Linked DNA regions of Homo sapiens: all the other regions are linked to region 2. The links are contacts of gene promoters, found by promoter capture Hi-C in human tissues and cell types (Jung and others, 2019). All regions are on one chromosome and are shown on one strand. Each heading gives the region's core, a stretch centred on a gene start or on the middle of the fragment in contact. The rest is flanking DNA. Distances are from core to core; before and after follow the strand shown.

Evidence for each region. The method cuts DNA at HindIII sites, captures the fragments that hold promoters and counts their contacts. A contact is called where the count stands out against the background at its distance.
Region 1: a contact is called between a fragment that was not itself captured here and the fragment with the promoter of FGF6 in region 2, in 1 of the 25 tissues and cell types used here (spleen).
Region 3: a fragment that was not itself captured here is called in contact with the fragment with the promoter of FGF6 in region 2 in 5 of the 25 tissues and cell types used here (H1 embryonic stem cells, bladder, heart right ventricle and 2 more).
Region 4: a contact is called between a fragment that was not itself captured here and the fragment with the promoter of FGF6 in region 2, in 3 of the 25 tissues and cell types used here (lymphoblastoid cells, mesendoderm cells and neural progenitor cells).

Annotation. Positions count from the first base shown.
Region 1 is chr12:4,399,783-4,406,550 of GRCh38, reverse strand. No RefSeq gene overlaps it. Among named protein-coding and RNA genes, the nearest start is that of FGF23, 23 kb to the right of the region's middle. The HindIII fragment of the contact is 3,512 bases long and covers 1,656-5,167 here.
Region 2 is chr12:4,443,003-4,449,395 of GRCh38, reverse strand. It overlaps FGF6 (fibroblast growth factor 6), which reads left to right and starts at 3,581. Exons shown (of 3, transcript NM_020996.3): 1 at 3,581-4,171; 2 at 5,160-5,263. The coding sequence starts at 3,826. The HindIII fragment of the contact is 16,147 bases long and covers 1-6,393 here.
Region 3 is chr12:4,380,835-4,386,942 of GRCh38, reverse strand. No RefSeq gene overlaps it. Among named protein-coding and RNA genes, the nearest start is that of FGF23, 4.2 kb to the right of the region's middle. The HindIII fragment of the contact is 5,845 bases long and covers 1-4,807 here.
Region 4 is chr12:4,483,166-4,489,213 of GRCh38, reverse strand. FERRY3 (FERRY endosomal RAB5 effector complex subunit 3) reads left to right here. Exons shown (of 14, transcript NM_020374.4): 14 at 1-1,479. Among named protein-coding and RNA genes, the nearest start is that of FGF6, 40 kb to the right of the region's middle. RefSeq lists an enhancer at 2,777-3,071. The HindIII fragment of the contact is 3,885 bases long and covers 1,360-5,244 here.

The DNA.
Region 1 (6,768 bases), core at 2,162-4,661, 43 kb after region 2:
TCTAGCTGGCTGTTTTTTATAGACATGCATAGTCAATGTGTACTTCCCTGAATTAAATCTAAATATCTTATTAACCACATGACTATAGACAACACACTTCTCTTTGGGCCTCAGTTTCTCCATCTGAGAATGGGACTAAGCTCCCATTAGACCTTGAATATTCAGTTTTTGTTCTGGCTCCCAAATCCCTTGTACTGGCAGCCTAGAACCCAGCAGAGCGACTGGGTCAAGGGAGGTGGCTGCACTCCACAGGAACAATGAGCACATGTTCTAGATCTTCCAGGACAGTCCCAATCTTAAATACTCTGTCCACTGTCCCCACAAGTGTGTCCATACAGTTCAATGCCTCTTGATTTTTGTGTTTCCAGTGTTGTCACCAGAAATACAGGACATCTCCACAGCAACATATTATATTATACATAGCCAAAATATTGTGTACCTATTGGTCTATTAAAAATGCTCTTATTAAAAAAACAAAATCCCTCACCAGCTTTAAATTCTTTTTAGTATTTTGAAATAAGCTGACACTAAACATAAATTTTCTAAATACTAATGAAGAACTACCAGGAAATGAACCTAGAATGTGCCTTAAAGTCAAGCTTATAGAGCTCAGGCTTTCGGTTCTACCAGAGCTCATTAGCTCTTAGGCCTTGGGGTTCCTGATCTTGTCCTATTCCACATTCCGTCTGAGACCATCACACGAGAGCCTCAAGAGCCACAACAATTCTGCTGCCACCTTTCTGAGTCCCGAAGTCCCAGCACCTGGGTGTCTCCATGGGAACAATGTCATCCTACAGCCCATCTCCTGCCATCTACCAAATGTAGAGGAGTGTTTGGGATGGTCTCATTTAAAATACCGTACATGCTGGGTGGGACTTTTCCTGTTGTCCTTGAATTGTGGCTAATCCAGAGGTACAAGCAAGGAGCTCCAAGAACCTTCACACTTGAAAGAAAGCTTTTAATGAGTTGGGGCTTACACCCCCTGTATTAGTCCGTTTTCATGCTGCTGATAAAGACATACCCGAGACTGGGTAATTCATACAGGAAAAAGGATTTAATGGACTTACATTTCCATGTGGCTGAGGAGGCCTCACAATCACGGTGGAAGGCAAGGAGGAGCAAGTCACATCTTACATGGATGGCAGCAGGCAAAGAAAGAGCTTGTGCAAGGAAAACCCCTTTTTTTAGAACCATCAGATCTCATGAGACTTATTCACTGTCGCAAGAACAGCATGGGAAAGACCTACCCCCATGATTCAATTATCTCCCACTGGGTCCCTCCCACAACATGTGAGAATTATGGGAGCTACAAGATGACATTTGGGTGGGGACACAGAGCCAAACCATATCATTCTGCCCCTGGCCCATCCTAAATCTCATATCTTCACATTTCAAAACGAATCACGCCTTCCCAACAGTCCCTCAAAGTCTTAACTCATTTCAGCATTAACTCAAAAGTCCAGAGTCCAAAGTCTCATCTGAGACAAGGCGAGTCCCTTCTGCTCATGAGCCTGTAAAATCAAAAAGCAAGTTAGTTACTTCCCAGATACAATGGGGGTACAGGCATTAGGTAAATACAGCTGTTCCGAATGGGAGAAATTGGCCAAAACAAAGGGGATACAGGCTCCATGCAAGTCTGAAATCCAGTAGGGCAGTGAAATCTTTTTTTTTTTTTGAGACAGAGTCTCACTCTGTCGCCCAGGCTGGAGTGCAGTGGTGTGATCTCAGCTCACTGCAAGCTCCGCCTCCCAGGTTCATGCCATTCTTCTGCCTCAGCCTCCTGAGTAGCTGGAACTATAGGCACCCACCACCATGCCCAGCTCATTTTATATATATATATATTTTTTTAGTGGAGCCAGGATGGTCTTGATCTCCAGGCAGTGAAATCTTAAACCTCCAAAATGATCTCCTTTGACTCCATAGTCTAACATCCAGATCACACTGATGCAAGAGGTGGGCTCCCATGGCCTTGGGCAGCTCTGCCCCTGTGGTTTTGCAGGGTATAGCCTCCCTCCTGGCTGCTTTCATGAGCTGGTGTTGTGTTTCTGCAGCTTTTCCAGGCACATGGTGCAAGCTGTCAGTGGATGTACCATTCTGGGATCTGAAATGGTGGCCCTCTTCTCACAGCTCCACTGGGCAGCATCCCAGTGGGGACTCTGTGTGGGGACCCCACATTTCCTTTCCACACTGCCCTAGCAGAGGTTCTCCATGAGAGCCACCCCCTACAGCAAACTTCTGCCTGGACACCCAGGTGTTTCCTAATACATCTTCTGAAATCTAGGCAGAGGTTCCCAAACCTCAATTCTTGACTTCTGTATACTTGCAGGCTTAACACCATGTGGAAGCTGCTAAAGCTTGAGGCTTGCACCCTCTAAAGCCATGGCCCAAGCTCTATGTTGGATCCTTTCAGCCATGGCTGGGATGCAGGGCACCAAGTCCCTAGGCTGTACACTGCACAAAGACCCTGGGCCCAGCCCTTGAAACCACTTTTTTCTCCTAGGCCTCTGGACCTGTGACAGGAGGGGCTGCCTTCAGAGACCTCTGACATGCCCTGGAGACTTTTCCCCATTGTCCTGGGGATTAACATTTGGCTCCTTGTTACTTATGCAAATTTCTGTAGCCAGCTTGAATTTCTCCTCAGAAAATGAGTTTTTCTTTTCTATCACATTGTCAGGCTGCAAATTTTCTGAACTTTTATGCTCTGCTTCCCTTATAAAACTAAATGCCTTTAACAGCACCCAAGTTACCTCTTGAATGCTTTGCTGCTTAGAAATTTCTTTCTAAGTCGTCTCTCTCAAGTTCAAAGTTCCACAAATGTGGGGGACACAAAGCCAAACCATATCCCCACCACCACCACCAGCCCTCATTAAAGGCTTTAAAGAGGCAGCCAGAGCAGTCCCACTCTTGGTCTCCCCTCCCATCAATGTGGACTAAAAGTCAACTGGGAAGGAAGGGTGTGGTGGCCACCAGCACTTTAGGGAAGGCCAGGTGCACAGAGCGGGGCCAGAGGAGGATCTGGTAGCTCCTGAGGCTTCAAGGGGGAGAGCTCACAGGTCAGTGAGGAGTAGGAGGTGTGGGACAGCAGCCTGCTGGAAGATGGGACATCCCACCAGAGAAGCACTCGCTGGCAAGTGCTGCTGGTTGGGCCAAAAGAATACTTGATTTTTCCTAGGAAATTTTTAGGAGATTTCTCAGGGACAGGATGGTGGAGTGAACCTGAACACCATGGCAAGAACCACAACCACTCCACGGAGACCATCTTGCTACAGAGGGAGTCCACTACCAACACATAGGCCCACAGAAAGCTGGAGGAGGGCCAGGGACACCTGGCCACCATCTACATGGGGTAGACACACAAGGAGACCCCTGCCTCCAGGAGCTGAGCGGGCAGCATGGGAGAAGCAGACCCACCCCAACCCCTCAAGCTGCGGGTCCAGCCTGTGCTTGCAGGTGGGAGTGGGAGTGGCATGTTTAATTGGATAGGAGATCAAAGTTCTACACTTTTATTTTTCTATCCGTGTTTGCCATCTTGATGGGGTTTTCTCCCCACTGCAACCCGTCCTGTTGACAAACCAACCAAAGAGAAACCTTTTCCTGACATCTCTTCAGGAGAGGTGAGGCAGCTGACATTTCCCAAAGAAACTTTTCTAAGTCTTCAGGTGAAACAACAAGGAAGTAATGACAAAAAATAGAAATGGCATAAAGAAAGTGACTTTTCCAAAAGGAAAGTTTCTGTTTCCACGAATCTCAGGGGAGGCAGTGAAGAAAGAGCTCTACTCTTTTCCTCAGTCCGCCAGCCCTGGGGTTTCTGCACCTGCCAATACCCCTGGACTCTGCTGCCCCTCTTTCCCCACAGCTTCTTGGCTGTCCCCATACATTTTCAGGTGTTCTCTTTTTGGTTCTTAGGACCCTGTGTCCCCGTCTCTTGATAAAGGCAGGCCCTTCACAGCATCCTGTCCCCTCTCAGACCGCAAGGACCCTCGAAAGGAAAGCCCTTGAGCTCCCGTTTCACTGGAGATGGAGGTGGAGGGTTCTCCACAGAGTCCCCAGGCAGTGGAGGTTGACGCTACCATGAGCGAATGAGTGCTCCAGCCCTGAAGCAGCTCTCAAGGCTCCAGGGCCAGGGCAACTGAGCATCACTTTTTGGACAGAGGATTGGATCCCAAAGAAGGCTTCTGTGAAGCAGAGTAAAGAGACTAAATGGTGCTCAAATGGGTGGCTCTTCTGCTCCATGTGTCATCAGATGGGATCATTTACTTACTTGCATTTAGCTGGTAGCTGAAAGGTCCAAGAAGGTGTCACATGTCTGGCACTGTGGCTAGCTTGGATTTCCTCATGGCATGGTGGTCTCAGGCCATTTAGACTGTTTATGTGACAGCTGGCTCCCAAGAGGGAGCATTCCAAGTGTAAGAAAGCAGAAGCCGCATCTCTCTTGAGGCTAAGCTTTGGGAGTTAGGCGATGCCACTTAAGCCATAATCTCCCGACCAGAACAAGTCATAGGCCAATCCAGATTTGAGGGAGCAGAGATAGCCTTTGTCTCTTAACAGGAAGAACAGTGAAGAAAAAAAAACTATATATATATATATATATAATTTTTTTTTTTTTTTTTTGAGACTGAGTCTCGTTCTGTTGCCCAGGCTGGCATGCAGTGGTGTGTCTTAGCTCACTGCAACCTCCGCCTCCTAGGTTCAAGTGATTCTCCTGCCTGGCTCAGCATCCAGAGTAGCTAGGAATACAGGCGTGTGCCACCATGCCTGGGTAATTTTTGTATTTTCGATAGAAATGGACTTTCACCATGTTGGCCAGACTGGTCTCAAATTCCTGACCTCAGGTGATCCACCCACCTCGGCCTCCCAAAGTACTGGGATTACAGGTGTGAGCCACTGCACCTGGCCTGAACCAGATCTACTCCACCACAATAGTGTTACCCTGGTTTTTAAAAAAGGTTTTATACCTTGAAATCCAGAAGACAGAGTAACCCATGACACTAGAAACTTTACCAAATCTCAGAAGGGAAAGGAGAGTTAAATAATCCAATAGAAATCCAATAGATTCTGCAGAGCTTTCTTCAGCCTCATCTCTAAACCCAGAGCAAACGGAAGGTGGGCATGGAGCTGCCCAGGCACGAATAAGATACAAAGAAATAGCATGGAAAGTATGCAAAAATACTACAGAGGAAAGAAAGAAGGAAGGAAGGGAAAGAAGGGAAGGAAGGAAGGGAAAGAAGGGAAAGGAGGGAAGGAAGGAAGGAAGGAATAGAGGGAGTGAGAGAGGAAGAGAAAAAGCAAAGTAAAAGCAAAGAAGGAATCACAGCATGCAAAAAACAAAGAACCCATTCTGGAAGAAGACATAATCCAAGGAAAAGACGGAAATTCTTCACAAGTGTTTTACAATAGAAAATAAATCTTTAAAGGAACATGAATTTGATTAAAATGAAAACTCAAAGACAAGATGATAAAACAATAGAATAAGAACAAAAGAGAGAAAGACAGAGACAGAGAGGCAGAGAGAGAACCATAGAGGGGCGGAGCGGGGGAGAGAGGAGGAGAGGAAAATTATAGTGCTAAGGAAAGAAATAAGGAGGCAAAGCAATAAATAAAGAAGAAGCAGAACAATACACTTCATGTGAATGTATTTGCCAGTAGAAAGGCTTTAGCTAGTGCCAGTGGATGCAGAAGACAAAGACAAGAACTAAAAGCAATTAGAGAAAAAAACAATAAATCTAAAGGATGGTGAGAGACCACACAACATAAGGTATTTCACGTCCCTGAGGTAAAGAAGCCAAGACATGGACTAGAAACATTAAAAGTATATAATACAAGAATTTTCCTGGAAATACAGAAAGAATCAAATCTACACATACTGGTTTCACGAAAAACTAACATGGAAGCTTCAACACCAAGATATATCCAGTTAATGTACTGAACTTCAAGAATTCCTCAAGCATCTTGAAGATGATATAAAATGTTAAATTAATTACTATAACTCAAGTATTAAAAAAAAAAAGAGAACAGTGCCTGGCACTTAGTAAGGCCTTCCTAAAAAACAAACAAAAGAACAAAAGCTACGCACAAAAGCAATTAATGTACAAGGAGCAAAACCAAGCCGACCTCAGACTTCCAAAAGCAATATTTAATGTCAGAAAACAATGTAGTGATATTTACAAAGTTTCGAGGAAAAGAAAATGGTACCCAAAATTATAACCATCAAGAAGTCATTTAACACAAAGGCAAAAAGAAAAAATAATTTCTAAGTTCTTTCTCTAAAAAGATAGCACCCAGGAATCACACTTGGAGGAAAAATACCTACTTGATTATAAGATTTTATATATTAAACTATAAATCCAAATAAAAATTCAAGAAAGGAGAAACAGTCAAAAAAGTACTGGTGGTAAGAACTGAAACTATTAGATGCTGAAGGAAGACTGAACAATTGTGGAAATTATGATTACAGAACAAATTTCAACAACATAAACTTTGACAATTTTCTGGTAACTTTTGACAGTGTAAAATTAACAATATAATTAACAAAATTAGGGAGTTGTGAGGAGAGAGGACATGTGAGAAATGCTTATTATCTTATTTTTCATAGCGCTTACCCAATTTAAACTGTCTAAATAAGTTTCCAAAAATATATAGCCAATTATTCTAATCTCTTAATGGTTCTCACAATATTTTCATACCTGTTTTCTTAAATGTAGAAGGATTTTATTAAAACAATACCTCTTGTGCAAAGGACACATTTAATAGAAAAGACAAATTTAACTA
Region 2 (6,393 bases), core at 2,332-4,831:
TTTGAGACAAAAGAGACAAAGACACTAAGCACAAACAGCTATTTTGTTTTCCACCTTATCATTTTCCACATTTTCCAAATTATCTATAGAAAAAGGCAAATGCTAGTTTTTCAAAACCAAATGTAAAAAGTACAAGTAAGCACAGCTTTTCACAATCTACGTGGATGAGGCTCATCTGAGTTTTATGTGCTTTCCCTTTTGGTCACCCATCAGGCATTTGATCCTGATTATGTAACACACAGCAGTCACAGAGAGCAACCACCTGATGTGACGGAGGGAGTTCTGCCATGCAGATGATGCGGAAGGTTGGTGTGGCTAAGCATTGCCAAATCTGACAAATCTGTATTTTGTGGTATCCCCCTTGGGGACAAGGACCCTGTTGTGGGAGGAGATAGACATTAACGTATTTTCCCACTCACCTCCACTGGATCTTGGCTCATCCAGCGAGAGTGATTGACAATCCCCAAAGGCTGTTGGCCAACTATTTGCAAGAGGGGTCCATGGAGAGAGGCCTCTTCCACCTGTTACTCTTTTCTCTATCACTTCACATCCATAGGGGTCCCTAAGCCCCAAGAGAAGGGTCAAGTGCAAATCTGGTAAGCCAAGAAGACCTAGCAGTTGTCAACCTAATTAGCCTTCAGGAAAAATATATGGCTATATGAGCACAGTAAAGTTGCTATAGAGACAGGCAGGGGAGGTACATTCAGAACAGGGCCTCATCGCATCACCCGATAAAAATAAGACCCAGGCTTTTTAATAGCATGAATTACTTAAGTTTTAAATTTAACAGGGGACGACACCAAGGCTCTCACTGGTTTTCAGAACATTTGAGGAATCTGGGCTGCCTGCTTCTGCATATGTTAGCAGCCATCACAACATATGCTGTGGCGGATGGCAATGAAGAACTGGAAGCCCACGTGTCTCTCCCACACCGTGAGATGAGAGATGGTCTTTCTCACTTTGGGTTTGTCCTCTTTAATTGGGTGAGAGATTTTCAATGTGTTTCAGGGAAATTTCTGGGAAATAGCTATACTGCGCTCTGCACTGGCCAGTTGTATGTATTATTGCTAGTCACTGTAACAACCTTAGGAAGTAATGATATCATTTTGCAGATGACAAAATAAGCTCAGAGAGGTCCAGAACTTTCCTAAGGTCACACAGCTACTAAATGGTGGAGTTGAGATTCAAATCCAGGTGTCCCCATTCCAAAGCCCATTGCTTTATGAGACATCAACCAGAACCTCTGCACAGAGAGGAATCCAGGAAGAGATGAATCTAAGGAGCGTTACCATTTTTATTGGTATATGACATGGACCTTGTTATAGTTTAATCTCTCTCCTAAGGCAGTCCCAAAGTGGATGGGTTCCAAGAAATTCCACAGAGATTCTGAGCTCTGCTGGTGAGCACCTCTCCGATTATCCAAGGCAAGTGTTAACTTCAGACTGACTTCTCCTTACCATCCAACATGTTTCTGGACTGTCTCTTCCCTAAGTGAGGACCACCAGCATAATTAACACAAGATTCCAAACAACATCACTGAGAAAGTGTCCCCACTGCTCTTGCATCCATGAAAGCTTAACTATATGAAACCCAGCTGGAAATCCAAAGTGAAGTTCTTTTTGTTGACAACTTTGTCTTCGGATTATTCATGAACCTTTTACTTTGCAGAAGGATTTTTAAAAACAGTTTTCCAACAAAGGCCTACATAGTAGACTCAATCTGAGCCTATAAGGCATCATCTTTCCTCATGGGAAATGGCAGTGCTGGTGATGATGAGATTGGGTATGGGACAACGGCAGTGGAAGGGAGAGGAAGCCAATGGGGAAGTCAGGGGGCCGTGGTGACAGTAGGAACAAGTGGTGCCTATGTCCCTCCCCATTCAGTTTACCAGCTGAGGGTAAAGACAGACATCTGGGCTTCACAGGATTTCAGAAGGCATGTCTAGGGCAACACTAAACACATGGCTTGACAGAAATTTGAACCAAAGCATCGAACCCAGTGAACGAGGCAGAAGGGCAGAGAGAAGGCAGGTAGAAGCCACAGACCAGAGGCTGGGACCCAGGGCACAGCAGAAGGTTTAGAATCAGAGGGAAGGCGGTGGTGCCTCAGTAGAGTCCTTGGGCCATGGAACTCACCCCAGGAGCTTTTCCAGGCTGCCTGCAGCCTGCAATGTGGGTGTAGAGTGTGGCTAAGGGAGCTGCCTGCTGGGACCAGCTCTACTGCTCAGGACACTCAAATCCATCTGTATGCCACTGTCATCACCCCACACATACTCTCTCCAATCCCGGCAAAATCAGTGCTAATGTCTCACCAACAGATTAAGGCCTGGATTGAAGTACAAGAAACAGGATTTTTAACTCAAGTTAATTCAATTCCCCAGCGACCCTTGTTAACTTATTCACCCTCAGAGACGTATTAATAGTTCTGTCTTATATTGTATAGAAATTTGTGCAGTGAGTTTTCTGGTAGCTTTACATTTTTTTTCTCACTTCAGTTAGACATGTAATCTATTTAAAAGTAATATGGGAATAAGATAAATCAGTGTAGGAATAACTTCCTGGCAGAAATATTTTTACTAGTTTCTGAGTGTAATATCAGCCCAGCAAAAGTTATCTGCAAATATAGAAGTTCTCATGTACATCAAAGACACTCAAGTTTTTTTTAAGAAATAAATCATTTTATGCTACTGAAATAACTCTGTGATGTGCTATTGGCATTTAAGGAGCTAAACAGACTCTATGGGCCAGCCAACTTCTACTGCAAGCATTAGACATGCACAGGCTTTAGACTCAGGCACACCTTAGAAGTTCTGGCTTTGCTACTTATTAGCTATGGTAACTCGGGCAGGTCATTTATCCTCTCTAAGCCTCAACTTCCTCATCTGTGAAATGGGAATAATATCAGTCACATGCCAGGGATAAATCCAGGGAGAATGGCCAGGGGGCTGTGTCAAAGGCCAGACACAACTTCCACCCCAGGTGAATGTCGGGACCAGGACAGTGAGCAGGCAAACCTTGCCCTTGCCCTCCTTCCCTCCACAATCTTAAAGCTCCTTGAACAACCCCCATCCCCACCCCCTGAGAATGTCTGTGCCCTCCTGCTGAAAGGGTTTGGCCTTTCAGTGTTCCCCTCCACCATGAGCTGTTTCCATGAAAAGATCTCAAGGGTGACTTGAGGCTACGGTCATCACTACCACAAGCCTTTTCCCATCCCTGCCTCTACCTATTGCCCTCTAAATAAGGAAGCCAGCGCTGCCAGGCAAAGAACTTCTGCCCAATATGGGTCCTGGGTGGCCTCTCGCCTCTCTCTTTCCCTGGGCCCCCAGCCAGCTCCCCCCTCCCCCAGAGATGCTCCCTGCTCACTTCATTCCTGCCTCATAGTTGGAATGACAGTGGCTCCCAGAACCCCTGGGGAGTGTGGAGGGTGATGGGGGTCTGGGGAGGCAGCCAGGCCCAAGAGCAGGTTAATGTTACAGCCCTGGATAAGTGAGCTGGGCGGGTTGACGTCAGGGCGATGATGGGTGGAGGGGAGGGCCGGGCTGCTGAAGCAACTATAAAGATAGGTCAAATCAAATATCATCAACTAGGGACGGAGCAAGCGGGCGAGCTAGAGAGCGTCCCCGAGCCATGGTCTCTACCGGCCGCGGCTCAGCCTGGGTCCCTCTGCTCTCAACCCGAGTGCCCGATGGAGGCTTTGGTTTCATGTCAGCAGCCTTCATCTGCCTTCCAAAAATAAGCCCCTGCCGCCATGCCGGAGGGAGAAAAACAAGAAGGGCGGTATTTTTAGGGCCATTAATTCTGACCACGTGCCTGAGAGGCAAGGTGGATGGCCCTGGGACAGAAACTGTTCATCACTATGTCCCGGGGAGCAGGACGTCTGCAGGGCACGCTGTGGGCTCTCGTCTTCCTAGGCATCCTAGTGGGCATGGTGGTGCCCTCGCCTGCAGGCACCCGTGCCAACAACACGCTGCTGGACTCGAGGGGCTGGGGCACCCTGCTGTCCAGGTCTCGCGCCGGGCTAGCTGGAGAGATTGCCGGGGTGAACTGGGAAAGTGGCTATTTGGTGGGGATCAAGCGGCAGCGGAGGCTCTACTGCAACGTGGGCATCGGCTTTCACCTCCAGGTGCTCCCCGACGGCCGGATCAGCGGGACCCACGAGGAGAACCCCTACAGTGAGTGCCAGCTGCAGCCAGTCGGGACGCTTGGGGGTTTGGGCTCATGCAGGGCTAAAAGGTGAAGGGGCCCTGCTCTAGCGGACAGGATGCACGATAAAGGGGGCAGAAATGCTGCTCACCACTTAGATGATTCCACGTGACCCTGCCTGGGTGCAAGCTCAATATACTGCGGTCCAAGCATCCTGGTGTTCTTTGCCATCGCCTTGGTTAGATCCTCAGTGGCACTAACTATTTCAGCATTACTGGCCCATCTGATGCCTTGTAAGACCATTAGGAACCATTAGTCTGGGAAGCCCCCAAGGCCTGGGTAGGGAGAATCAGTTAGTATACTTGGATCAAATTTGACACAAGCTCATTTTTATTCAGCTTCTTTCTTGGAGAAGGAAGGGAAATTCAATTGCAAAATGTCCAACTGAAGCACATCCTTCTTTTTATTTCAGCGGCTCCCTCTGTCCCCAGGTTCTTATCCTGCAAGCTGCCTGCAAGCTGCCAGCTTGCTGTATGGTTAGTCTCCTATCCAAGAAAGGATGGGGGCTGCAGGATCCAAGAAAGCCATCAGCTATGGTGTGGCTGCTGTGTTTTCAAGATTAAGTGGGTTGAGATTTGTTGAAACATGTAGAGTACACATTAAGAAGAAGAAGAAGAATCAGAATTTATTTTTTTACTCAAGTCAAGGACCTCAAGTAATTATGTCACTGAAAGCCCAGATTCAAAGCTCATCTTAAACAGATAGCTAAGTGGTCACTGCAGCCCCTAACTCTGCTATCAGAACCTTCCCTTGCAGAACTGGATTTCTAACAGCACAATGGCAGCACTCGATGAGTCCAGCAGCCAGGGTCTCCTAGAGTTAGAGGGATCATGGATGGGGCAATGGAGAGTCTGGCTTTCTAGGAGAAGGGGGATGGACTGAGATGCCCTTGTCGGCTCAAGTTCCCACTCTGATTTGCACAAGCCTTAGGTAATGTGGCCCCCCTTTCCTTGTCAGGCCTGCTGGAAATTTCCACTGTGGAGCGAGGCGTGGTGAGTCTCTTTGGAGTGAGAAGTGCCCTCTTCGTTGCCATGAACAGTAAAGGAAGATTGTACGCAACGGTGAGTTCACCAGGCCGGGGAAGTGCCAGGTTTACAAGGCTTGATGCTTACACAGTTGAAGAAAATAATATGAAGTCCTGAGTAGAGAAGTGACTATCTAAATGGGAAAGGAAAGGCTGTGAGAGGAGCCTGTGAAAGGGAGGGGCCTTGCAGCTTGTGCTTCTTCAGCCTCACGGGTGATTGTCCTCTGCCCTGGCCCGTGCTTCTTCTGTTCCCACCTGCCGGCCGGAGCCCGTGTGCTTAAACGGAAACCACAGCTCAGGGAGCCCGTGGGCCAGAGGGAAACCCACATTCTGGCATCCAGGCTTGTGAGCAGGTGTGATTCCCTGCACTGGCGAGGCCCCGAGAGCAAGTCTGTCTCTCTGCCTGGGTGCGCTGCTCCATGACACGCGCCCTGCAAGATGCCCCAGCCTCGTGCGCAGCAGGAGGAGTGGAATGGGAGGCTATTTTCATCCTCATCAGTGTGCTGAGATTCTGCACTAGGGTTTTCAATCCTCTGGTCTCCGATCACGTACGCTAGAGAAGCAGCCTACCCGTTATACACTTTAGGCTGGTACCAGTCCCACCCATTCCCATCCCCACCCCCATAGGTCACCTCTGGGAGTGCCAATGCTGGCACTTGGGTTAATGCAACCAGCTTCTAAGCACATTGACGAAAACCTCTGCTCTCACTGACCTACTCTTTCCTGCAGCCCTCGGCCCATCATTTGGCTTATTCCAAAATATGGCGGGGCAAACATCCCGATGAGGCTGAAGAAATGGAGAGTTCCTTTGACAGAAATAAGCAAGCTAAAAAGGAAGACCTCAGAGCAGGCCTCAAAAAATATCAAAGTTATTTATGGGGAGGGTGTGGAGAGCTGATCTACTGCCCCTTGGAGGATAAACTGAGGACTGGGATGTGAAGAAATAGATCCAGGACTGGCACTGGGTCCCAGGGGAGCTGTCCCAACAGAGGAGGTCTATGAAATACAAGAACGGGTTCACCAGGTGGCCTCCACCCCATAATCTTTAGTGCTAACATCTCTCAGTCTGGGTTGGTTTATGTGGACATACGGCATGCACTACAATCAGTGGGTCTCCCACACGGGTCTGTGGACAGTTTGCATCTCTGTCACCTTGGAAACTTATTA
Region 3 (6,108 bases), core at 636-3,135, 61 kb after region 2:
CTTCTCTCATCTGCACCTGCTGTTGATTAGCCCTTTGGTTTCTCTGTTTCTGCTGGTTTCCAGGCATTCCCCCCAACTTTTTTTTCAACTTTTATTTTAGAATCGGGGGTTCGTGTGCAAGTTTGTTACAAGGTCATATTATGTGATGCTGAGGTCTGGGGAATGATTAAACCCATCACCCACGTAGTGAGCATAGTACTCAATAGGTAGTTTTTCAGGCCTTTCCTCCCTCCTACCCTCCCCTACTAGTAGTTCCCAGTGTCTGTTGTTCCCATCTCTATGTCCATGCATACCCAATGTCTAGCTCCCACTTATAAGTGAGAACATGTGGTCTTTGGTTTTCTGTTTCTGCATTAGTTTGCTTAGGATAATGGCCTCCAGCTGCATCCATGATGCTGCAACGGACATGAATTCATTCTTTTTTATGCAGCCATTCTTTTTGCATGGTTTTTGCATCAGTTTCTTTTCAGTTACCCTCTCTCTTCTAATGTTCTTCAGAATTCTGATACTCAGCATAGCTGTTTTATACTTTTGAACGACTTTAAACTTCTAAATAAATAAACACTCAGATATGCATATTTAAATACCCTCAAACATTTCCTATTCTTATAAAAACTTTATGCTCTGTATTAAGTTCAAAATAGGTTGCAAATTTTATATTACACGTTTGAAAATCGTAGCTTATTTTCCAAAGGCTTCGGTAAATAGCACTTCTATGCCCATCCTTGTCACCTTGTCATCAGCAGTCATTACCAGCTATCAGTGGCCATATTTATAAATTAACAAGTGTGGTCTTTATGAGATCACTGCAAGTGTGGAGATTTATTGGCCATAGTGGCAGAAGTGAAAACTATCACAGCTGAACCGTGGAGAAGCACCGCTACATCTTCTGTGGATTCAAACCCCTTTCCAAGCCTTGATGTCCCCCCGCTGCTGGAATTCCAGGCTTCCTTGCCCATTGGAGAAGGCTGCCCTGAAGACAAGCCCTCCCGTGGGCCTTTATTTTGGAAAGGCTGCCATGACAAAAATAAGCTGGAAATTTTGTCTTGGGGAGGAGAAATTGAACATGTCATTTGGAGGGAAAGAAGGGAACTGGAGACTGATTCTATGGGAGGTATTGGTTCTAGACTAAAAGGGGGTAAGTTCTTGATGTGGCAGAGAACTGCGGTAACCCCAGCCACCAGTGCCATCCCATGCAGGGCCATTATTATATGTATATGTGTGTATGTATCTGTTTATATGTATGTATGCACATGTATATAATGGGTGTGTATGTGTATATACACATACATGTAAACATAAAGTCCTGTGGCCTTGGGAACCACCACAAAAGCCTCTGGGGCAGAGCTTGGAAGGAAATGAAGCTTTCAGAAGAGCTGACCACTTTCAAATACAATGGAATGGAATAATTTAAAAGAATGAGGTAAAGATATGCATACTGACCTGGAAAGGTGGTCAAAATAGACTTCAGCGGACAAAGTGGGTATATATTATATACGGTATGCCCTCAATTTTGTCTTTTAAAAGTGCGTATTTTTCTGGCTGATAGATGCAAAATTTTTTTTAAATTTTAAAATAAAAGTGCATATTTAAATATATATACTTATATATAATATACACTTTAGTATTAATATATAATGTTAAATATGTACCTATTTAGAAATACATAAATATAAATATATACATATTTTATTAAATATTTATTAATACATTATATATTTTATTAACATGTATTATTGGCAATATATTAATGTATTTTATTATATTAAATATAATATATATTTTATATATATGCCCTAAAGCTATAATTTGTCTTTGATAACATTTTACCTCTAGAGGTTACAAACTATATTGTATATTCACTTTCTACTTCATACATTTCTGCATTGATCTACTTTTTAATAAAAACAGATTTTTTAAAGTCATGTTTTTTTTCTCTCTTTTCTTTAAATTCCTACGATAACAGAATGTGTGTATCAGGAGCCAGGATGCTCTTGGGAAAGTCGTCCCCGACACCCCCCAGACCTGCCCATAGGACTGTTTTGAGCCTCAGAAGAGACAATAGATATGAGTGTACTTTATGGGCTGTGAAGTGCTAGACAAATACAAAGAATATTCTGCCTAGTAGATTGCAAATTCCCTGAAGATCAGGACTGTACCTTTTCATTCTCAGACTTCTCTAAAGATTTTCTACAAGGTAGTAGCCATATAACAGGCTTTCCATAAAAAGTTATGTGTTGATTGCTTGGATGCATTAAAGCAAGAGAGAATCAGATTGGCTATAGGGAAGCACATTTTTGCTGTCAAGATGACACTGGGATGACATTTTCAGATGAGATACAGGAATGGCACCTCTCCAGAGAACTTCAAGAAGCCAAAAAAAAAAAATTTTTGTTCTAGATGGCTTAGATATCCATCTCCCTGAACGCTGGAGGTCTGGACGACATGTAATGCTCTGAGAAAGCAAGAGGGCAGGGACACCGTTACTGAAATGGTGGAGACAGACTCAGGAGGAGTGAAGGGACAGGGAGCAGAGGCCTGCCAGGTCCTTCCAGGATCTCAAAAAGAAAAGAAGGCTGCAAGCCACCGTGAGATCACCTTCTCTCCTATCTCCCAGCTTTTTTTTTTACCTTGATTCCTCTGACATTTTTTCATCATAGCTAAGGACAATGAAGTTGATGTTATTGTTTGAAAATTATTGCCCAGTCTTTACTTTGAGTGAACATGATCTGGGTGAGAATCTTCTTCAGTACCTTCTCAGAGCAGATGCTGATAAAAAGAAGTCAGGAGATGAAGGAAAGTAATGAACTTGCAGGAATACTTTTTTTTTTTTTTTTGACAGGGTCTTATTCTGTCACCCAGGATGGAGTGCAGTGGTGCAATCTCAGCTCACTGCAACCTCTGCCTCCCAGGTTCGAGCAATTCTCCTGCCTCAGCCTCTCGAGCAGCACGCTCGAGAGGCACGCACTCATGCTCGGCTAATTTTTGTATTTTTGTAGAGACAGGGTTTCACCATGTTGCCCAGGCTGATCTCAAATTCCTGACCTCAGGTGATCTGCCCGCCTCAGCCTCCCAAAGTGCTGGGATTACAGGCATGAGCCACTGCGCCCAGCCGGAATACAGATTCTTATAGGCCCTTATCTATACTAAGAGCCTTGATTCTATGAGCGTAAATGCAGGGACTAGACTTGATGCTTCCACACAGCTCCCGGGGCAAATTCTCTTAATGCCAGAGAAGTGGGTTCCAAACCAGGCTGGAGACAACAGGTTTCCCTGCCTGCCATGGGACCAGCCTATCTGCTGCATTCAGGTAGCTACCTGGGAACCAAGGACAGTGACGTCCAAACAGCACAAACCCAGGGCCTCCTCCCTGGGCTTCCTGTTCACAGCTGGTATCTATCTGTGTTTCTCTTTGGGCTCCTAAGGTCACACTGGTTCCCAGACCCTTGGACCTGAACTGTGACGGAGGAGTGCCCTCTAGGTGCAAAGGACAGGAACCGACATGTCCTGGCCTCTCCCTTCTCTTACCCACTGAAGCTTCAGAGGAGACCATGCACTGGACTCAAGGACAGGGTACTTGTCAGCACGAGGTACTGATTTAGCATTCAGTACTAAATTCCCTAGAAAGGCCCATTTACATCTTGACCTGCAGTTAGGATGGACATCCTAGAAGGGAACGGAAAGTTGAGCCTGCCACTGAAGAGGGCCTTAGTCTCTGTGTACTATTTCCAGTGCTTGATGTGTGGTTGGCGCTCAAAGCCTGTTTATTGATAAGTACTTTAGTATCAGCCACATCTGGTGTGGAGAATTAGAATCTCCCAGGTGGCTTTGAATAAAGTACAAATAACTGACTTTTGCCCCTGCAGATTCAGTAGGTCTAAGATTAGTCCTGGGGCAATTATGGCTTTAAAGCTCCACAGGTAATTCCAGTGAGCAGCCAGATTTGGAAGCCACTGGTAGGGAGTTCAGCCTGGAGCTGGACATTCTGCTGTCTCCGTGTTCCAATGGGCAAATCTTCATCTCCGCTCTCAGTGTTTCCCTATCTCAAATGGGGAGAATTAATCTGAGATTCTTGCGCCTTCCTTTACTCTCTCTAAGTGGGAAATGCTGCTTCTCCTCCCATCCTCCTTAAAAATAAGTCTACTCCTCTGGGCTGGACTCTGCCATTAGAGCCAGATGCTAAGCACACAGGGCTTCTTCTTGGAGGGGAGGCTTTGGACCTGGGTAAGCTGGCACAGGGCTCTCTTTCCTAATAAGACAAGCTGAGGTGGCCACGGAGGAGCCCCTTCCCCAGTCGCTCCAGGAGCTAGGGGAATGACCGAATGGCTGTGGACTTATCCCAAGACACCTGTGCTCCCTCTCCATCATGCTTGGCAGGTGCTGGGGAAAACCCTTCTCTGTGTATCCTACAAAGCTCCCTCAGTTCTCTCCTTCCCTCAAAGCCCTCCTTGACCACAGCATCTACCCACCATGACCTTTTTTTTTTTTTTTTTTGGTGACAGATCCTCGCCCTGTCATCCAGGCTGGAGTGCAGTGGTGCAATCTCAACTCACTGCAATCTCCACCTCCCAGTTCAAGTGATTCTCCTGCCTCAGCCTCCCAGGTAGCTGAGATTACACAATACGCCCAGCTAATTTTTTTGTATTTTTAATAGAGACAGGGTTTCTACTAAACGGGGTTTAGACAGGGTTTCACCGTGTTGGCCAGGCTGGTCTCGAACTCCTGACCTCAAGTGATCTGCCCACCTCGGCCCCCCAAAGTGCTGGGATTACAGGCATGAACCACCACGCCTGGTCAACATTTCTTTTTTGTGAAGGAGCTTGGTAAAAAAGTGCAGGCAGCAAAGCACTCCTCCATGATTCTCTCGGAAACCCAGGTCTTTACCCGGGGTGAATCTCTAGGGTACATAGTGCTTGTCTCCCCAGGGTTGTTTGGAAGATGTATGACATTAAATGTTTATGTATAAAGCAGGCTTCTTTAGTAATGGCCACAGAATGGTTTATAAATATAGTACCACATCTTCACTAATTTGCTCCTAGTAATGAAGCTCCTCCCACACAGTGCCTTGTATTGAACGAAGATGTTCCCTGCTCAGTTACACTGGGAGCCCCTAGAGGAGTTAGTCCTGCTTTGTAGTCCTACACCCTCCCTTTCATCTCTTACATGGAGAAGGTTCTCAATGGCTGCTGATTGCCTTATAATTACTTCCCATCTCTTTACCTTTCACAACCAGAATAAGAAATGCAGGGCAAATGTTCCTAAGTGATTTGCATCTCAATTCTGAAAGCTAGCTATTTCTTCAATTAGCTAAGACGTAGCATTATATTTATAATCCATTCTGTGGCTATTAGTAAAGAAGACTGTTTTACATATAAACATTTCATGTCATACTTCTTCCACTCAACCCTGGGGAGACAAGCACCATGTGTCCTAGAGATTCATCCTGGGTAAAAGCCTGGGTTTTTAGAGAATAACAGAGGACTGCTTTGCCACCTGCACTTTTTTACCAAGCTCCTGGCTCTCATGGCTTTAGCTCTAACATGTTGTATGGGTTTGGACACCTTGAAAAGTGCTTAGGAGGTCTTGGGGCCAGACCTGGATTCAAATCCAACCTCTTCCACATGTTACCTTTCTATCTCTAGGCAAGTTACTTAAACTGTGTGCATAGATCAGTTTCCTGATCTATATAAAGAAAATAACAGCATCTCCTCAAAGAGTTATTCTGAAGATGAAATGGGTTACTACAAGTAAAGCACTTAGAGCAGTAAGTGGAACAGTAAGCTCTCCATGAGCGTTAGTTCTTGCTGTGATTCTTTGGAGAAGCAGCCTAGGGAAGGAGAAGACCTTGTCCTGGCTCTACCATTTATTTGCTTTGTGCCTTTGGACATGGAAACACTAAGATTTCCATTTCTTCATGTAAAGTATTAAAATCTTGATAATGCATGGAGTGCCTATCTCACAGAGTGGCAGTGAGGTTCAAATAAGCTAATAGATGTGAAAATGCTTTGTAAACTATAAAAAAAAACTGTACAAATGTAGGGTAACAAATGCCATCTCTTTCTGTCTATACCTGTAAGCTTGCACTCATTTTGTATTATAGTTACTTAT
Region 4 (6,048 bases), core at 2,053-4,552, 40 kb before region 2:
ATTTTTTCCCTCTCTCTCATCCTCCCGCTGTGCCCTTGCACTTGCATATTAATAACATTTCATGGACTGGGAAATAGTGTTCTTTTTTGCAAGCTTGATGTCAAGTTAGTCTAAACCAGCACCTGGCAGTATTTTAGTGCTCATCAACATTGTGACAATCACACAAGGAAGATCATTTCTACATTTCTGTCCTCCCTGCGTTCTCAGCTTGCTTAACCATTCCTCTACCTCTTGCATTTTTTTGCGGATAAATGTATCCCCATTTCTGCTTCTCTGTTTCCCCTCCTTTTCCATTGTTTTTCCTTATGGTACTACTTTCTCAGGTGCTACATATCATATATTTGTCCCATCTATAACATATTTAAATGCTATAAGTAGTAACTCCATTAAACAAAGGCATTTACAAAAGCACACAGGTGTTTAGAAAAGCAATAGTTTCATCAATTCCAAGTTATGTGGATATTGTAACTGGCCACAAGAATGAAATGGAGGGCATTTGGTGTCATAAGATGGCATGTCTTGATGACAAGAAACAAAACGCCCTTCATTAATATGCCTCAGTGTAATAACTATTATAGAAACTGTTGGCAAGCAGAGTGCTTTCCTATAACAGAATGTGTCTTAATTTTCTACTCGAGGGAAAGGTTTGTCCAGGTAACAACACTAAAGACAACCCTAAGAACACCCACTCCAGCAGTATGTCCATTAGACACTAAAACTCTCCAAATTATTTGTCAGGGAGCCTGGCGATTCTGCCAAGAAGGCAGGTGTTTTGCCCTTAGAGCCTATACAGTTCTCTTGGAGAAATTGTCTTTCAGGCACCACTGTTAATCACTGAGACTGATTCTAATGCAAAGCAGGGAAGACAGAGGCAGAAACCAGGAGAGTGGTAGATCAGTGCAGCCCAGATATCGGAATGGAGGAGCAAAGTTTCATTCACGGATGTTTGTTGAATGCTGCTGCCCAACTCTTCCTTTGTCACCTCTAGGCTATTCCACTAAGTTACTTATAAACTGGTGGCTTTAACTGAGGGCTGTGTAAAGGTACTATTTGGCATGTGAAGTCAGGATAAATTTATCGAATGTCCGTTTTCCACATGCAACTGTGTTACAGAAGTAGTAAAATTGGAAGAATCATGTTTATGGTGTTACCACTGATGGAAACACACAAACACCAAGCTAATAATAAATATATAACTTAAAAAGCTAATTATATGCACTGAAATGGTGGGAATTTTAGTGATGCAGTAATTGAGGAGTCTGGAGTTTTGTATTTGGACCAAGAATTATGAGATGAGGATCTTTTTCTGAGTGTTCTAAAGGGCTTCTTGAGGGGGAGTGGTTTAAAGCACTTCATGAATGATGTGAAGAAGGTACCTTGGGCTGAGACAGCATTCTAGGTACAGATGGCACTCTGTTCAACCAACTGTGGATGGAAAATATTCTGAAAAAAAATACAATAAAAATTTTAAAAATACAATATAACATCTGTTTACATGGCATTTACATTGTATTTGGTATAAGTAATGTATAGACGGATTAAGTATATGGGAGGCTGTGTGTAGGTTGTATGCAATTACTACACCACTTTATATGAGACTGGAGCATCCAGGGATATTGATATTGGCAGGGGGTCTGGAACCAGTCTCCTGCAGATACCAAGGGACAACTGAGTAAGGCGCAGATAGGAGCAGAAGCAGAATGGAGGCAGTGGTAAATGGCCAGTAAGTTGAGAGGAGCTGACCACGAGAGTCTTTGAGGATGGGGAGATTAGCACAAACATTGACATTGGTGAGGATTGTGAGTTAGAAGTTTTCTATTTGTATAAACAGTTACATATTCCTAAATGGCCCTCAAGGCCTTAAGAGTGTGCTTTGGAAATCAGGCAGAGGCACTGAACCTGAGGTCTCCATTCTGTGCTGCTCTTTCCCCCCCTTCCCCCATTTCTGCTCTCGAAGCACCACACAAGCAAAGCCATTGATCTAGAAGTGTGGCACCAGCTGTTTCTCAGCATGACAGTGTGACCAGAATGGAAGAAATGCATGAAAAAGAATTTCAGCGGGAAGAAACTGAGCTTGCCTGGGAGTTGGCAGATCTCTTATTGGCACAGTACACACCATCATTTGTGTTACTTCAGTTGGATCCTGGCTAATTCTCACAAGAAGAAAACATGTTTCACAAAAGAAAGATGAAATCACAGAAACATTTCTTTTCTAGAGGCTCTAAGGGAGAATTCACAGAACTGTAGAAAGAACCCACTAAAGTTAGAGACGAGCCTCAGGCCTATTTTTCAGTTTCTTTTTATTTTCTATTTTTCAGTTTCTAGGTGAAAATGGCTGCTTTTCTGTGACTTAAGTTTTTCCATTTATATGAAGTGGGACTGATTTGCTCAGTAGGAGTAATAGAAGTATAAAAATCATAAATGTGAAGCAAAAAGAATACAACACCTATTTGGAAAAAGTACCATGTTTTCAGGACCTTTTAAATCAGTGATTTTCTATCCTTTGTTCAAGAATCTTTCATTATCCATCACATCTTTGCCCGAAATGTTTTGAGAACATAAACAATTGGAATTATTTGAGCAATCTTTTTTACTAAATCAAAGACAGGTATGTCTGGAGAGAAGCTTCTGATTAGCAAATGGTACATAGTATTATCACCTACAATTATCACTGTGCATTCTCATGCCTAGTATTACCACATAAAATGCATAGAATTATCATTGTGTAATTCCAGGCAAACTTGCAAAAACAAAGCCTTGGTGTTTGACTTAACCTGTGGGACATCATCCAAGTGAAATGTATTTTTTGAGAGATTCTTTATAGCTCAATATCTTAAAGGATCACTAATTCCAGGAACCCCAAGCTGGGAACCACAACCTTGGGCAGAAATATTTACATGAGAATATGTTACAAAGGGACGGCAGAGATCAAGAAAACATAAATAGCAGATTGACCCTGAGAATCTCGTTCAATAAACAGCCAGTGTTTACTGAGTTTCTTCTATACACAAAGGCATAGTGCAAGCAAGATTCAGCCCCTAGAAGGTTATACAAAGGCAATGGGACTTGTAAAGACAGAAGACTTGGCGGGCTTTTCTGTAATCTGTGATGCTGATGATCTCTAATAACTAAAATAAAATTTCAGCTAAAGCAGGGGAAAGGAGGAGTAACCTCCTGAGGTGCCTGCAGGACCAATATGTGCTTATAATGTCCTATTTAAATATACACAGATAAAATTACCATATACTTCAGTTCTCTCTTGCGGTTCATTTCCTGTTTTCCTACAGGAAAATGGTTCTGGATATGTCCAAATCGAAGACATATGAGGCTTTCTCATATATCCAAATCTAAGGCTGGCTGAACTTCATACTATATACAGTCAATCCTCATTAGTTGAAGATACCATATTTATGCAATCACCTATTCACTAAAATTTATTTGTAACTCCGAAATTGTTAAAGACATTTACAAAAGCATACAGTCATTTACAAAGACAATAGATTCATCACCCCAAAGTCACGTAGATGTTGTAACTGGCCAATAGAATAAAAAGCAGGGCCTTTGGCAGCACTTTCAGGTTATCTGTGGACATGTTCAGAGCACCAAAATGTTTGAGTCGCCCAACACATATGTTCCCAGCTCAGATGGAGCAAGGTGATGCTCTGCTGCCTTATTTTAGCTTTCATAGTGCAAATAAATGTCCCTTTCATGGGTCTGTTTAGCACCATGTTTTTTTTTCCATTGCTTTGTGGTGATTTTGTTGTTCAAAATGGTCCAAGTGTAGTGCTCAAGTGCTATCTGGTGTTCCCAAGTGCAAGAAGGTTGTGATGTCCCTGATGAAGACAACGCATGTCTAGATAAGCTCTGTCCAGGTAGGCAATGTAGTGCTGTTGGTCAAAAGTTCAATGATAATGAATCAGTGATGGGTATTAAATAAGGTGTCTTTCAACAGTAGCACACATAAAACAAGATTATATCTTGATGGGCTGATGAGACTGTTGTGGTCAGAGCCTTGCAGGAATTTAACTCTCTGTCTCCCTTGGGAGCAATGATTTAGTATTCACTAATTCAGGGTTCACAGCATCTTTATCGAACATAACTACTGTGAACTGTGAGAGTCGACTGTATGTGTCTTCTCTCACCGGCAAGAGGGTGCAAGAGCTATTCGTAGATATTTTTGGTGCATAGAGAATGAAACCTGGAACACGTTACCAAAGAAGCAAACAGATCCTTTCTTGACATGTTCAGGAATTAAGCAGAAACTGTACTGTCATCTGTCATACGTTAGGTGTGACATCTGCAGGAGGAGAATGTACTGATGCATGTCTCCTCCTTTCTCCCTAGCCTTCTCTCCTTTTCTTTCTTTATAATAAATTCTCATTTCCTGGTATCAGCTCATCTGTGCTCAAAAGTCTCTACTCTGAGCAACAATATAACATCAGAGATCAGGAACATAGTCTCTAAAGTTAAGCCTGATTCAAATGCTGACTCCTCAGTTTATTTGCTGTGGCTTGTTACATCGGGCATATTACCTAATCCCGTTAAGCATGTTTCCTCATCTGTAAGCTAGGGAAAATTAATAATAGTATCTACCTCATTGAGTGGTTGGAAGGATTGCATAAGAAGGGCACATTACCTGGCATATAGTCATCCTATAAATATTTGCTGCTATTATCCTTCCTTCCTTCATTCCTTCCTGTCTCCTCCTTCCTTTCTTCCTGTCTGACCTTTCTCCTTCTTCCCTTTCTTCCTTTCACTAGATAGAAGGGATGCTAAGTCACTTAAGACACCGTGTCCTCAAGAAGCTTACAGCCCAATTGAGTTGGTAGGAAAACACACAGTAACCACAGTACCAGCTAGCATATACTAGAGGTATACAGTCAGTGCAGAAAAAAGCATACACAGAGTGCTATGGAAGTCAAAATAGAAACATTAGCATACGTTGGGCCAAGAGAGATGTTGAGCCTCTTGAAAGCAGACTGCTTATCCCTGCCTTTCTCTGGCACTGAGTGAGTATCCTCTGAACCCTCATTATTCTCAACAGGTGAAGCACAAATCCTCCTGGCAGATGGGAAGAATGCCACCTGTGCCAGCAATGGCAACAACTTCAGATACAAAGGATCTGAATGTCAGGAGGAAGTCACAGGGTAGGTGACTAACCCTGTATTTGAGTAGAGCAGGAAGGACTATCATATTTTTTATATGAAGTGAATCTAGATTTTAGAAATAACAATAGTATGAAGTACTTATGGAATTTAAAGTCTCCTACCCACATAGCAGCTGAATGAACAACTTGCCCCTGTAATGCTTTCCTGGTTCAACTCTTAGGACTCTCTTGTCAGCAAGCTGATCATGTGTTTGCTGTCTTGCAGATGAGCAACTGAGGCAAGAGGATTAGATGCTAGGAAGGTGTAGAGGAGATGTCCTGGGATGAGAGAAGAGGATCAGAACTCAGAAATCACTAATCTACTTAGTCTACTTTATGTGTGTGGTGATGGGGATGGGGGAGGGGCACTAGGATAAATACTTTTTCTTTTTAAAAATCATCTTGGCTGTCTTGGCTAGTGTAGCACATTGACTCTGCTATCTGAATTTCCTTTTATCGTGAAATACTTCAAAGATAAAAAGAAGTTAGAGAAATTATAACAAATAACCATGTACCTACTACTTGTTTTTGTTCAAGCTTAAAATTTTGCCACCTTTGCTTTAGGGCTGTCTTTTTTATCACATAAAAGATCACAGATGCAGGTTCTCTTTTGCTCCTGTAGCTTTAGCCTCTCCTTGTATCAGCTACTTCTGAGGAACAAACCACTCCAAAACTTAGTGGCTGAAACAATAAGCATTTATTCTTTATGATTCTACGGGTGGTCACCTCAGCAGTTCTGGTCTCGCCTGGGCTCATTTTTGAGTCTTTGGTCAGTGGTGGGTCGAGTAGGCCACTCTGATTATCTGGGCTAGGCGTTGTCACATGTTTGGGGGTTGGCTGGCTGTAGGCTGGTATAAATGACCTCTGCTGGCACAGCTGGACTTTTCTTCACTGTGAGCCAT